Regions from separate parts of the Homo sapiens genome. Here all the other regions are linked to region 2. Evidence: promoter capture Hi-C in 16 types of primary human blood cells and fetal thymus (Javierre and others, 2016). All regions are on one chromosome and are shown on one strand. Each heading gives the region's core, a stretch centred on a gene start or on the middle of the fragment in contact. The rest is flanking DNA. Distances are from core to core; before and after follow the strand shown. Region 1 overlaps LOC107987026 (a long non-coding RNA gene). Region 2 holds the start of IFNA5 (interferon alpha 5). Region 3 overlaps LOC107987026 (a long non-coding RNA gene). Region 4 overlaps LOC107987026 (a long non-coding RNA gene).

Region 1 (2,700 bases), core at 61-2,560, 410 kb before region 2:
GAACATTGCTATAAAGATACCCGAAAGTGTGGAAGTGACTTTGGAACTGGGTAATGGGTAGAGGCTGGAATAGTTTGGAGGGCTCAGAAGAAGACAGGAAGATGAGAGAAAGTTTGCAACTTCTTAGAGACTGGTTAAATGGTTGTGATCAAAATGCTGATAATGATATGGACAGTGAAGGCCAGGCTGACCAGGTCTCAGATGGAAATGAGAAACTTATTGGGAACTGGTGCAAAGGTCATGCATGTTATGCCTTAGGAAAGAGCTTGTCTGGCTTGTGTCCATGCCCTAGGGATACGTGGAAGTTTTAATTTGAGAGTGATGACCTAGGGTATCTGGCAGGAGAAATTTCTAAGCGATAAAGTGTTCAAGAAGTGACACGGCTGTTTCTAACAATCTATTCCTATGTGCAGGAGAAAAGAAATGACCTCAAGTTGAAACTTACATTTTAAAGGGAAACAGCATAAAAGTTTGAAAAATTTTCAGCCTAAACATGTTACAGAGAAAAAAACATTTTCTTTTGGGAGAGGAATTCAAGCAGGCTGTGGAGGAACCACTTGCTAGAGAGATTTGCATAACTGAAAATAAGGCAAGTGCTGATAGATAAGATAATGAGAAAAATATCTCAAAGGCATTTCAGAGATCTAAGAAACAGTTCATTGCATCACAGGCCCAGAGGCTTAAGAGGGAAGAATGGCTTCATGGGCCAATCCCAGGGCCCCACTGCCCTGCACAGTGTTGGGACACTGCTCCCTGCATTTCTGCTGTTCCTGTTCCAGTCATGGTTCAAAGGGGCTCAGATACAGCTCAAGCTGCTGTTTCAGAAAGTGCAAGCTATAATTCTTGGCAGCTTCCACGTGGTGTTAAGCCTACAACTGTGCAGAATGCAAGAGTTGAGGCTTGGGAGCCTCCACCTAGATTTCAGAAAATGTATGGAAAAGCCACGGTGTCTAGGCCGAAGCCTGCTGCAGGGATGGAACCCGTATGGAGAAACTCTGTTAAGGCAGTGCAGTGGGGAAAGGTGAGGTTAGAGCCCCTTCCCAGAGTCCGCACTAGGGCACAGCCTAGCAGAGCTGTGAGAAGAGGGCCACTGTCCTCCAAACCCCAGAATAGTAGATCCACCAAGAGCTTGCACTCTGTGCCTGGAAAAGTTCCAGGCACTTAACACAAGCCCATGAGAGCAGTTGTGGGGACTGAATCATGTAATGCTACAGAGGCAGAGCTGCCCAATGCTTTGAGAGCCCACCCCTTGCAGAAGTGTGCCCTGGATGTGGAACATGAAGTAAAAGGAGATTATTTTGGAGTTTAAGATTTAATGACTTCCCTTCTGGGTTTCAGACTTGCTAGGGCCTATAGCCCCTTTCTTTTGGCCAATGTCTTCCTTTTGGAGTTGGAATGTTTACCCAATGCTCGTACCCCCACTGTATCTTGGAAGTAATTAACTTGTTTTATATTTTACAGGCTCACAGGTGGAAAGGAATTGCCTTGTCTCAGATCAGACTTCAGACTTTGGGCTTTTGAGTAAATGCTGGAATGAGTTAAGACTTTGGGGGATTATTGGGGAGGCATGATTGTATTTTGAAATGTGAGAAGGACATGAGGTTTGGGAGGTATCAGGGGCAGAATGATATAGTTTGGATGCATGTCCCCACCAAAATCTCTATTGAAATATAATCCCCAATGTTGGAGATGAAGCCTGGTAGGAGATGATTGAATCAAGGGGGTGGAGTTCTGGTGAATGGTTTAGTACGATCCCTTTGATACTGTCCTCACGTTAAAACAACCAGGTCTCACATGAGTGAATTTTCATGAGACCTGATTGTTTAAAAATATGTGGTACTTCCCCCTCACTTTCTTGCTCATGTTTTGGCCATGTGAAGTGCCTACTCCACCTTTGCCTTTCTTCATGATCGTAGGTTTCCTGAGGCCTCCCAGAAGCAAGCAGATGCCATCATGCTTCCTGTGGAACCTGCAGAACTGTGAACCAATTAAACTGCCTTTCTTTATAAATTATCCAGTCTCAAGGTTTTTAGTTAGATTTTTGGAGATGGAGTCTCGTTCTGTCACCCAGGCTGGAGTGCAATGGCATGATCTTGGCTCACTGCAACCTCTACTTCCTGGGTTCAAGCGATTCTCATGCCTCAGCTTCCCTAGTAGCTGGGATTACAGGCATGCACCACCACACCCGGCTAATTTTTGTATTTTTAGCAGAGATAGGGTTTTGCCATGTTGCCCAGGCTAGGCTTGAACTCCTGGCCTCAAATGATCCACCCACTTTGGCCTCCCAAAGTGCTGGGATTATAGGCATGAGCCACCAAGTCTGGCTCAACTATTTCTTTATATCAATGATAGAACAGACTAACAAAGCAGATTACATTTTTTTTTATTATTATACTTTAAGTTTTAGGGTACATGTGCACAATGTGCAGGTTAGTTACATATGTATACATGTGACATGCTGGTGCGCCGCACCCACTAACTCGTCATCTAGCATTAGGTATCTCTCCCAATGCTATCCCTCCCCCCTCCCCCCTTTGCTTCTCTTACTTCTAATAGTTTGTTTTGTAACCAATAGATTGAAACTGCCACAATTAATAACAATACATGAATACCAGCTGCCATTATGGGCTGTGTCATTTCTGGCAAGAGAGCTTTAATTTTACCTTTTTCTTCCTACTTATGGAAACATAGCAGAGTGCA
Region 2 (2,700 bases), core at 115-2,614:
TGTTGTTGTTGTTTGTTTGTTTGCTTGCTTTTTGAGGCGGAGTCTCGCTCTGTTGCCAGGCTGGAGTGCAGTGGGGTGGTCTCGGCTCACTGCAACCTCCGACTCCCTGGTTCAAGCAATTCTCCTGCCTCAGCCTCCCGAGTAGCTGGGATTACAGGCACGTGCCACCACGCCCAGCTAATTTTTGTATTTTTAGTAGAGACGGGCTTTCACCATGTTGTCCAGGAGGGTCTTGATCTCCTGACCTTGTAATCCACCCACCTCAGCCTCCCAAAGTGCTGGGATTACAGATGTGAGCCACCGCGCCTGGCCTAATTTGGTTTTCTTGTAACATCAGAAGCATTGACCTTGAGTTCATGGAAGATACACAAAAGGTATACAAGATCAGTGCTACAAGCATATGGCAAATGGGTGGCTGTTATTGGAGGACTTTCCAAGATTTATTAGATGTCAAAGTCATATCATGTGAGGTGGCCTCTGTATACATATGAGCTGTCATTTGCTGTCTTGTGTATGTTGCTTATATTTGATCCTGAGCATTTATGACTGTGTTTTGAGTTTTGAGGTTTCAATAAAAATACTTTATCTTTTACTATTTAATTCTACTAAAGTTGTTCAACACATCAATAATTATGTCAAGCACTGAAGAGAAAAAGGTTTTTGACAATATCTAGATCAATATCTAGAAGCTAGTGAATTTTTTAAATTTCCCTATGAAGCAAAATTGAAAGTACCCTAAAAATAAATGTTACAAATAATTTCAATTTTAATAGTCTTTAGCTATTTTGAATTTTTAAATATTTCATTATACTAGGCAATATTATATATTTTCATAATTTGTTAATTTACTTATTTAATCTGACACACTACAATTTATATAAGTAAATAAATCACATTGTTACTTAAACAAATTGAACTATGAAGTTAAATATCCATAAATTGTAAATTTAATTATTAACTTTTACCTTAGAATTTTCATTTGCTCATTCTTAATCCGGGACTGAATAAATTCTATTTTACATTCTATTACGCTGCTTTTAAAGCATTAAAGAAGTACAATATTCTCTCTCGATAATGGGTACTGTAATGTATATACATCAGCCAACACATAGTATATCTGTGTTATTAAAATTTAATGGGATTTTTAGTTAGAAAAAAAATTTCTAAAAAGCATATGTGGCAGAGGAAGATGAGGTAATAATGTAAAAATAAATAAACTGAGAAACACTCCTGTACATCTATGTAGAAAGAGCATAAAAGAAAGCAAAAAGAGAAGTAGAAAGTAACACAAGGCATTCAGAAAATGGAAACTCGTATGTGACCTTTTTAAGATCTGTGCACAAAACAAGGTCTTCAGAGAAGAGCCCAAGGTTCAGGGTCACTCAATCTCAACAGCCCAGAAGCATCTGCAACCTCCCCAATGGCCTTGCCCTTTGTTTTACTGATGGCCCTGGTGGTGCTCAACTGCAAGTCAATCTGTTCTCTGGGCTGTGATCTGCCTCAGACCCACAGCCTGAGTAACAGGAGGACTTTGATGATAATGGCACAAATGGGAAGAATCTCTCCTTTCTCCTGCCTGAAGGACAGACATGACTTTGGATTTCCTCAGGAGGAGTTTGATGGCAACCAGTTCCAGAAGGCTCAAGCCATCTCTGTCCTCCATGAGATGATCCAGCAGACCTTCAATCTCTTCAGCACAAAGGACTCATCTGCTACTTGGGATGAGACACTTCTAGACAAATTCTACACTGAACTTTACCAGCAGCTGAATGACCTGGAAGCCTGTATGATGCAGGAGGTTGGAGTGGAAGACACTCCTCTGATGAATGTGGACTCTATCCTGACTGTGAGAAAATACTTTCAAAGAATCACCCTCTATCTGACAGAGAAGAAATACAGCCCTTGTGCATGGGAGGTTGTCAGAGCAGAAATCATGAGATCCTTCTCTTTATCAGCAAACTTGCAAGAAAGATTAAGGAGGAAGGAATGAAAACTGGTTCAACATCGAAATGATTCTCATTGACTAGTACACCATTTCACACTTCTTGAGTTCTGCCGTTTCAAATATTAATTTCTGCTATATCCATGACTTGAGTTGAATCAAAATTTTCAAACGTTTCACACGTGTTAAGCAACACTTCTTTAGCTCCACAGGGACAAAATCTTTACAGATGATCATGCCAATCTATCTATTCTATCTATTTATCTATCTGTCTGTCTTCTATCTAATCTATTTAAATATTTATTTATTTATAAGATTTAAATTATTTTAAATTATGTTTGTTCAGGTAATATTACATCCACCTTTACTTTGTGGCTAATATAATAAAATATGTTCTTTATGTTTTGTCAACTGATTATTTTGCTTTGTTCATTAGATTTTTACTATTAATTGTTTGTTTATTCTTTAAAATGAAACTCCAAGCCTGATTGTATAACTTGATTAAAAACAGATGGTACAGTTCAGTTACCTATCATTATTTTATTCAAATTTTAAGTAAAGGAAGATTTTTCTTAAGTGAACATAATAAATACAATTCCTGTTCCCTTGTATCTTTGATTTTTGCCAGAAATTTAACAACAATAATTATGATTAATATGAGTTATGTTAAATGCTATAATGTGAGCTAGGAAAAAAAACAGTGAATTGCTCTCAGCAGAACGCAGATAGAGGCACGTCCAGAAAGAAAAATAAAAGCA
Region 3 (2,700 bases), core at 30-2,529, 450 kb before region 2:
GTCCTGACACAAGGCTTTTTGAGGATTAAGTAGATTTTAGTCATCAAGCTTGATTCCAGCTAGGGCTTTGATATGTTTTCTTTATGTCAGATAATATATGTTTTTTTTTTAAAGAAGTATGATTTCTCTAGGGCAGATGTTTGATGGAAATTTATGGGCAAATTAGATCATCACTGAACTGATTTATTCTCTTGGTGTGTAACATTTAAATATTGATTGTGAGAGTCTCTGCCTTCAAAGAACTTATAGGCTAGTTATTGAGACACACAGCAAATTACAATATAATGTTGAAAATGCTATCAGTGCAATGGGAATCCATAGCAAGGGGTGCCTCAGTAAGATACTTGGGGGTAGGGGATAGGAAGACTGCAGCTTGGGCAGCATCTGTGTTGTCCCGGTAAAGGGAAAGTTATTAGTAGGTGAAGGACCTTAAGAGTGAAGCTAACACAGCCTTGGTGCTGAGGTGAAGGGTGCACACAACTAATACCTAATGATATGTGATAAGAAGCGCAGTGAGAAGTGTGGATCAGATTAGATACCTGGAAAATAGTGGAGAACCAGAAATTATTGAAAGATTACTGTTGATCCCAGTGCTCTTCAGTATAGCTTCAATGCACTTTCAAGGAGATCAGTGTGCACATCAACTTCCTTCGTTTGCCTGCACAGAGACTTTCATCTGAGTGGGCCAAAGTTAGACTCAACCATTCAGGGCCTGAGATTCATTTCTTAAGACCAGTGCTGTTCAAGAGAAATATAATATAATGCATGCCATGTGAGCTACATATGCAATTTTTTTTTACCAGTCACATTAGAAAAATAAAAAGAAACAGGTGAAATTAATTTTACTAATATACTTCAACTCAATAGATCAAAATATCTCAACAAGTAATCAACATAAAAATTGAGATGTTTTGCTTTTTGATACTGATATATTTTATATATATGTAGATATATATATAGGTATTTATACTGTCTCCTAAATCCAGTGTGAAGTTTTACACTCACAGCACATCTCAATTCAGATTATTCACACTTCAGATACACAATAGCAACATGTGGCTGGGGGTTACTGACAAATTAAAGCTACCCAGACCACTCCCTGCACAAGAGTATAACTGTGTTTTGGTTCATCTCTTCACCAGTTAAGGATGCCGAATCCTATGATGTCCTAGAAATCATTCTGTTACTCAGGCATTTACTCATTCATTCATGCCCTTGTTCTTAGAACAAACATTTATTGAGCACCTCCTATATGTGAAATACTTCACTGTGAGAAGGGGAACATTGACCATAAAAATGAATAATACCATCTAGTATCAGAAAGAGAGGCGGAAACAAATATTCACAAGATGTTATGACAACAGTAATAAGTGGAGCAGTGAAGCAGTGATTGTCCATGGAATAGGAAGTGGATATGCCAGAGTTTATGCTGGGGTAGGGGTGGGGAAGGGGAGTTGTGGGTGTTTCAAATTAAACTCATACCCTGGAAATTTCAACCTCACAAGAGAGAACCATTGTTGCCTCACCCATAGAAAGCCCCTTCTCATATAAAACCCCACTGAGACAGCATTACTGATAGGATCATGCCAAATCCCAGGGGTGCTAATGTGCAAAGAAGGTTGCAGGACATTGAATTAAGAGGATATGCAAATTTCTATGGGACACTGGGGGGATTCTGAAGGACTTCATTGAAAAGGTGGTATTTTTGTTGCATTTTGAAGGATAAGTTTATCAATTTAAAGAAGAGCATTCTAGGAAGAGGATACAAAGAATACAATGTGCAAAGGCACGTAAGTGGGGAAGGAGGAAATGTATTATGTTTAGTAAACAATAAAGATTCATATAACTGCATCGTAGGGTGGTGTGTGTGTGTGTGTGTGTGTGTGTATGTGTGTAAAGTGGGTTAGACATGTTTGATAATATAGTTTGGGACTATATTTTGATGAGTAATGTGTACTCCATTAAAAAGTTCTCACCCTGTGTTTTAGGGAATTAACATTATTTCTCCCCACAATCAATACTTTCTTCATAGTCAAATTCAAATTTCAGGAAAATCCTTGATTAGAATTATATCTCTTTGGCTTCTCTTCTACCCCTATCTCTTTTTTTCTGGACAACTGAATTTTCAGACATTAATATGAACCAGTGACTGAAAAACATTTCCTCTGTCAACTAATTTATCTTCTTACTGAATGAATAATCAAATTCAATTGGATTAAACAAGCTGTAATACCACTGTCAAAAGCCATTAGCAATATAAGAGCTTCAAGCCATAAAGAACTATTTTTGTATATCTTAGAGTTTTCTTCATGAAAGGAAAAACTCAAACTAAAGGAAATAATGTGTGTCATTACAAGCTCTGAGTCCTTTAGGGTCTTCTCATCAGCTCTGTGGTTTATTTATTTTTTCTTTTCTTTTTGTCAAGATTAAGAGTAGTGCTGTCTACTTGATTATCTCAAAAGTACAATGTTTTCTTGGCAGGATTAAAAACCTGGATGTATCAAAGCTTGCACATTATTCGAATTTTGAAATAAAAAACAATGAGGGGACATAATGAAAACCAAGGAGGAGGGGTGGGGAACTTGATACCCCCTTCTTCCTTTTGAGAGATCATTTTATCCACTTCCTGGAGCTATTGTACCTTCCCTGAAAGAATGACACCTTACATTTCCTAAATTTGTATCTCGGCCAATTTCCTGC
Region 4 (2,700 bases), core at 54-2,553, 430 kb before region 2:
ATAAATTATGCTGAATCAGAAGCAACATGGACTGCCAATTCACACATGTCAAAGGTTTCTTAGCACTACTTAAAGTTTGCTTTGACTACCCAAGCCTATGATGGTGTGAGTTTCCAGCATGTCTGGAATGAAAGATCTGGCAGAAAGTTATTTGTTTTCTTTTCCTTGACAAATATCCCCCCTACATTTTCCTGACCTTCCTGACACTCATTATGCCATGCCTCATCATGTTTAGGCCAAGCAACATCCCACATGCTGAAAAAAAATCCAACAATTTTAAGAAAAATAGAGGATTAGGTATCTTGTAGAGGTTGTCCTGAAAACTCAAATAAATAGCTGGTAGGCACACAGTTTGCTATGGTCATGGGTGCTAACACTGAAGGCTTCTGCAGTGCTCACTCTACTGGGCTATTAGTCTAGTAGTGGAGCCAGGTATTAAATCAAATTGGTGTGATATGGATGGAAAGCCAAGAGCTAGAATTGTGGAATAAGAGAAGAAAAGGTTAGGAAGAGTCATGCATATATACCTAAGGAAGAATGACAAAACCAATAGGAATTCTTTTATAGAAATATTAATATAAATGAGTTTTTGATTACTTGCCCTTGTTAAGCATCCTGTATATTGGCCCGCCTGTCCTCTGGCTCCATTATCCACCTTTTCTGCCCTGCTGTGTGCCCACGTTCTCTTGTTAAGACCCTGCCTGATACAGTAGTTGGTACCAAGAGTAGCCTCATGAAACAGACATTCTGGAGAAGATTCTGAAACTAGAGTGGCTCATATGTTTTATGGACACATGAATAAACTCCTTGCTAGACAGAAATCGCACCCTGTTAATGGGTGACAGGTAGCAGTGCCACGATTTCTAAAATTATCATTGGTGATGGTTTTAGGTGATGGAGAGCAAGGTTTTGAGTGATCACATAAAGGTGGCATCTGATTGCTATGCAACAATGGTGGTTACAAAGGTTATAGACACAGTGTGTCAACTGTGCCTGACTGTGTTAGAGAGCTTATTAAAAGAAAACAATAAGTTTAGGGCCTTGAACTGAAAACTTACATCAGGAATCAAGAGAAGACTTTTATAACGTCACAAATAAGGGTATGTACGAGCTCAGCCACAGCACATCAACAACGCTGATCTGGCTATGACCATTGCTGTAGCACAGAGGCCAGCAATGAGCCCCTGATAGAATATGATTCCTGGGAAAAATAGCTGGCCACCTGGAGAAGGCAAAGATGTGTCCACGTGGAACAGAGATGTATTCCAAATTCAAATTTGCTTTCCACGCTTGCAGTGCCTTTGCCCAGACCACTATTCCTGGATGACAGTGTGCCTTATTCACTGCCATCATATCCTTCTTCATAGGGCTTTTATCCAAGGAACTTATTTTACAGCAAAAGGAGTGGCAATGTGATAATACTCATGGAACTCACTGGTCTTAGGACAAACTACATCACCCAAAAGCAAACCGAAGTGGAGAGGAATGGTAGCAGTAGAAGTGATCTGCCTGGGGTGCAAGGAATAAGGGGATGAATTGCCTGCTGAGAATTAGAACCCACTAAAAGCCAGTTGCTTTTCATAAACACTAGGTACTTGCAATCCTAAACAAAATCAGTGAAAAGAGACTCTCCTCAAAGTTTACTCCTTCCTCTTTCCCTTCTTGGTTCTCCATTGAACACTGATTAAGATACCATTTATATTTTCAGATAATTCTTCACCAAAAATAACGTGCTACTGTCTGGGCTATGGGGTTTCAAAAAAAGGTTTTTCTGTAGAGTCTTCTTCCTGTCATGAGATAGTCTCTTACATTCTTTTACATTATGAAGTAGAAAACTTTACATCTGTACCTGAGGATTGCACTGTGAAAGGAATCAATTGGAGGTGCAAGTGTATTATAAATAGGGTGGCAGCATTATTCTTGGAATTGGATTCAAATCATTTAGTAAGAGAGTGAGAACAACTCCAGGTTACAATGTTGGAAGCTATTATTGAGTAAGAACAAATCCAAGAATGAGAGAGGTAAATATGAAATTATAACATTAAAAATAGACAATCATTTTTAAATTTGTGTCCTTCATTTTATCAGATAGGATGTGAAAACACTTATCTCTTCTGTTTAATACTGAGGACCTAACAGATTCTTTAGGTGTACCAGATATTACAAACAATTTTCAGAAAGTCTTTGGCAAAGGATGAAAAGGGGGAGTAAAAGATAGCATTGGGTTAGAGGAGAGAAAAGAAAAGTCTAGCAGACCTGTGATATGCCAGAAACCATCTGGATTTCAAGGCTTATTTCATCTTTTCGGTGCTCCAGGCATGGTGCTTATGATCTTTTCAATGACTGCTGTAGTGAACACTCTGTCCTGCCCAGGTGCTTCCCTCTCCAATTCCTTTCCCCAGCACTATGCCCTGTCCCCTCAGCGTCCGTATTCTCTTTTGCTAAAGGCTCCCTTGCCTCTGCAGAGGACTGTCTTTGGATATATAAACTGTCTCATCACTGAGGGAAGTGCCTGAGAATATTCCTATCCACTGACTGACAGCTGGTGATTGACTGATGGAAGGGTACAAAAGCCTGACTTATTTGCCTCAACAAGTGGGACAAAGCTTGCCATGTGATTTATACTCTAGAGCTCCCCATAGGATTAGGCTGAGATTGCAACTTTATCTGCAATTACAGCCTTGCTTGGGTTCTTCCCCT

What was found. Contacts are between HindIII fragments. The CHiCAGO score rates a contact against its expected background, and 5 or more counts as called.
Region 1: a contact is called between a fragment that was not itself captured here and the fragment with the promoter of IFNA5 in region 2, in 1 of 17 cell types (M1 macrophages). The highest score is 6.2, in M1 macrophages.
Region 3: a fragment that was not itself captured here is called in contact with the fragment with the promoter of IFNA5 in region 2 in 7 of 17 cell types (M1 macrophages, fetal thymus, total CD4 T cells and 4 more); the score reaches 6.9 in M1 macrophages.
Region 4: a contact is called between a fragment that was not itself captured here and the fragment with the promoter of IFNA5 in region 2, in 1 of 17 cell types (M2 macrophages). The highest score is 5.0, in M2 macrophages.

The regions. Positions count from the first base shown.
Region 1 is chr9:21,713,594-21,716,293 of GRCh38, reverse strand. All of the region lies in intron 1 of LOC107987026 (a long non-coding RNA gene), which reads left to right. Among named protein-coding and RNA genes, the nearest start is that of MTAP, 88 kb to the left of the region's middle. The HindIII fragment of the contact is 2,938 bases long and covers 1-2,700 here.
Region 2 is chr9:21,303,977-21,306,676 of GRCh38, reverse strand. IFNA5 (interferon alpha 5) reads left to right here and starts at 1,364. Exons shown (of 1, transcript NM_002169.3): 1 at 1,364-2,351. The coding sequence starts at 1,421. The coding sequence ends at 1,990. All of the region lies in intron 2 of LOC107987053 (a long non-coding RNA gene), which reads right to left. The HindIII fragment of the contact is 5,226 bases long and covers 1-2,700 here.
Region 3 is chr9:21,754,987-21,757,686 of GRCh38, reverse strand. All of the region lies in intron 1 of LOC107987026 (a long non-coding RNA gene), which reads left to right. Among named protein-coding and RNA genes, the nearest start is that of MTAP, 46 kb to the left of the region's middle. The HindIII fragment of the contact is 2,458 bases long and covers 51-2,508 here.
Region 4 is chr9:21,738,734-21,741,433 of GRCh38, reverse strand. The region is part of intron 1 of LOC107987026 (a long non-coding RNA gene); the gene reads left to right. Among named protein-coding and RNA genes, the nearest start is that of MTAP, 63 kb to the left of the region's middle. The HindIII fragment of the contact is 2,610 bases long and covers 1-2,608 here.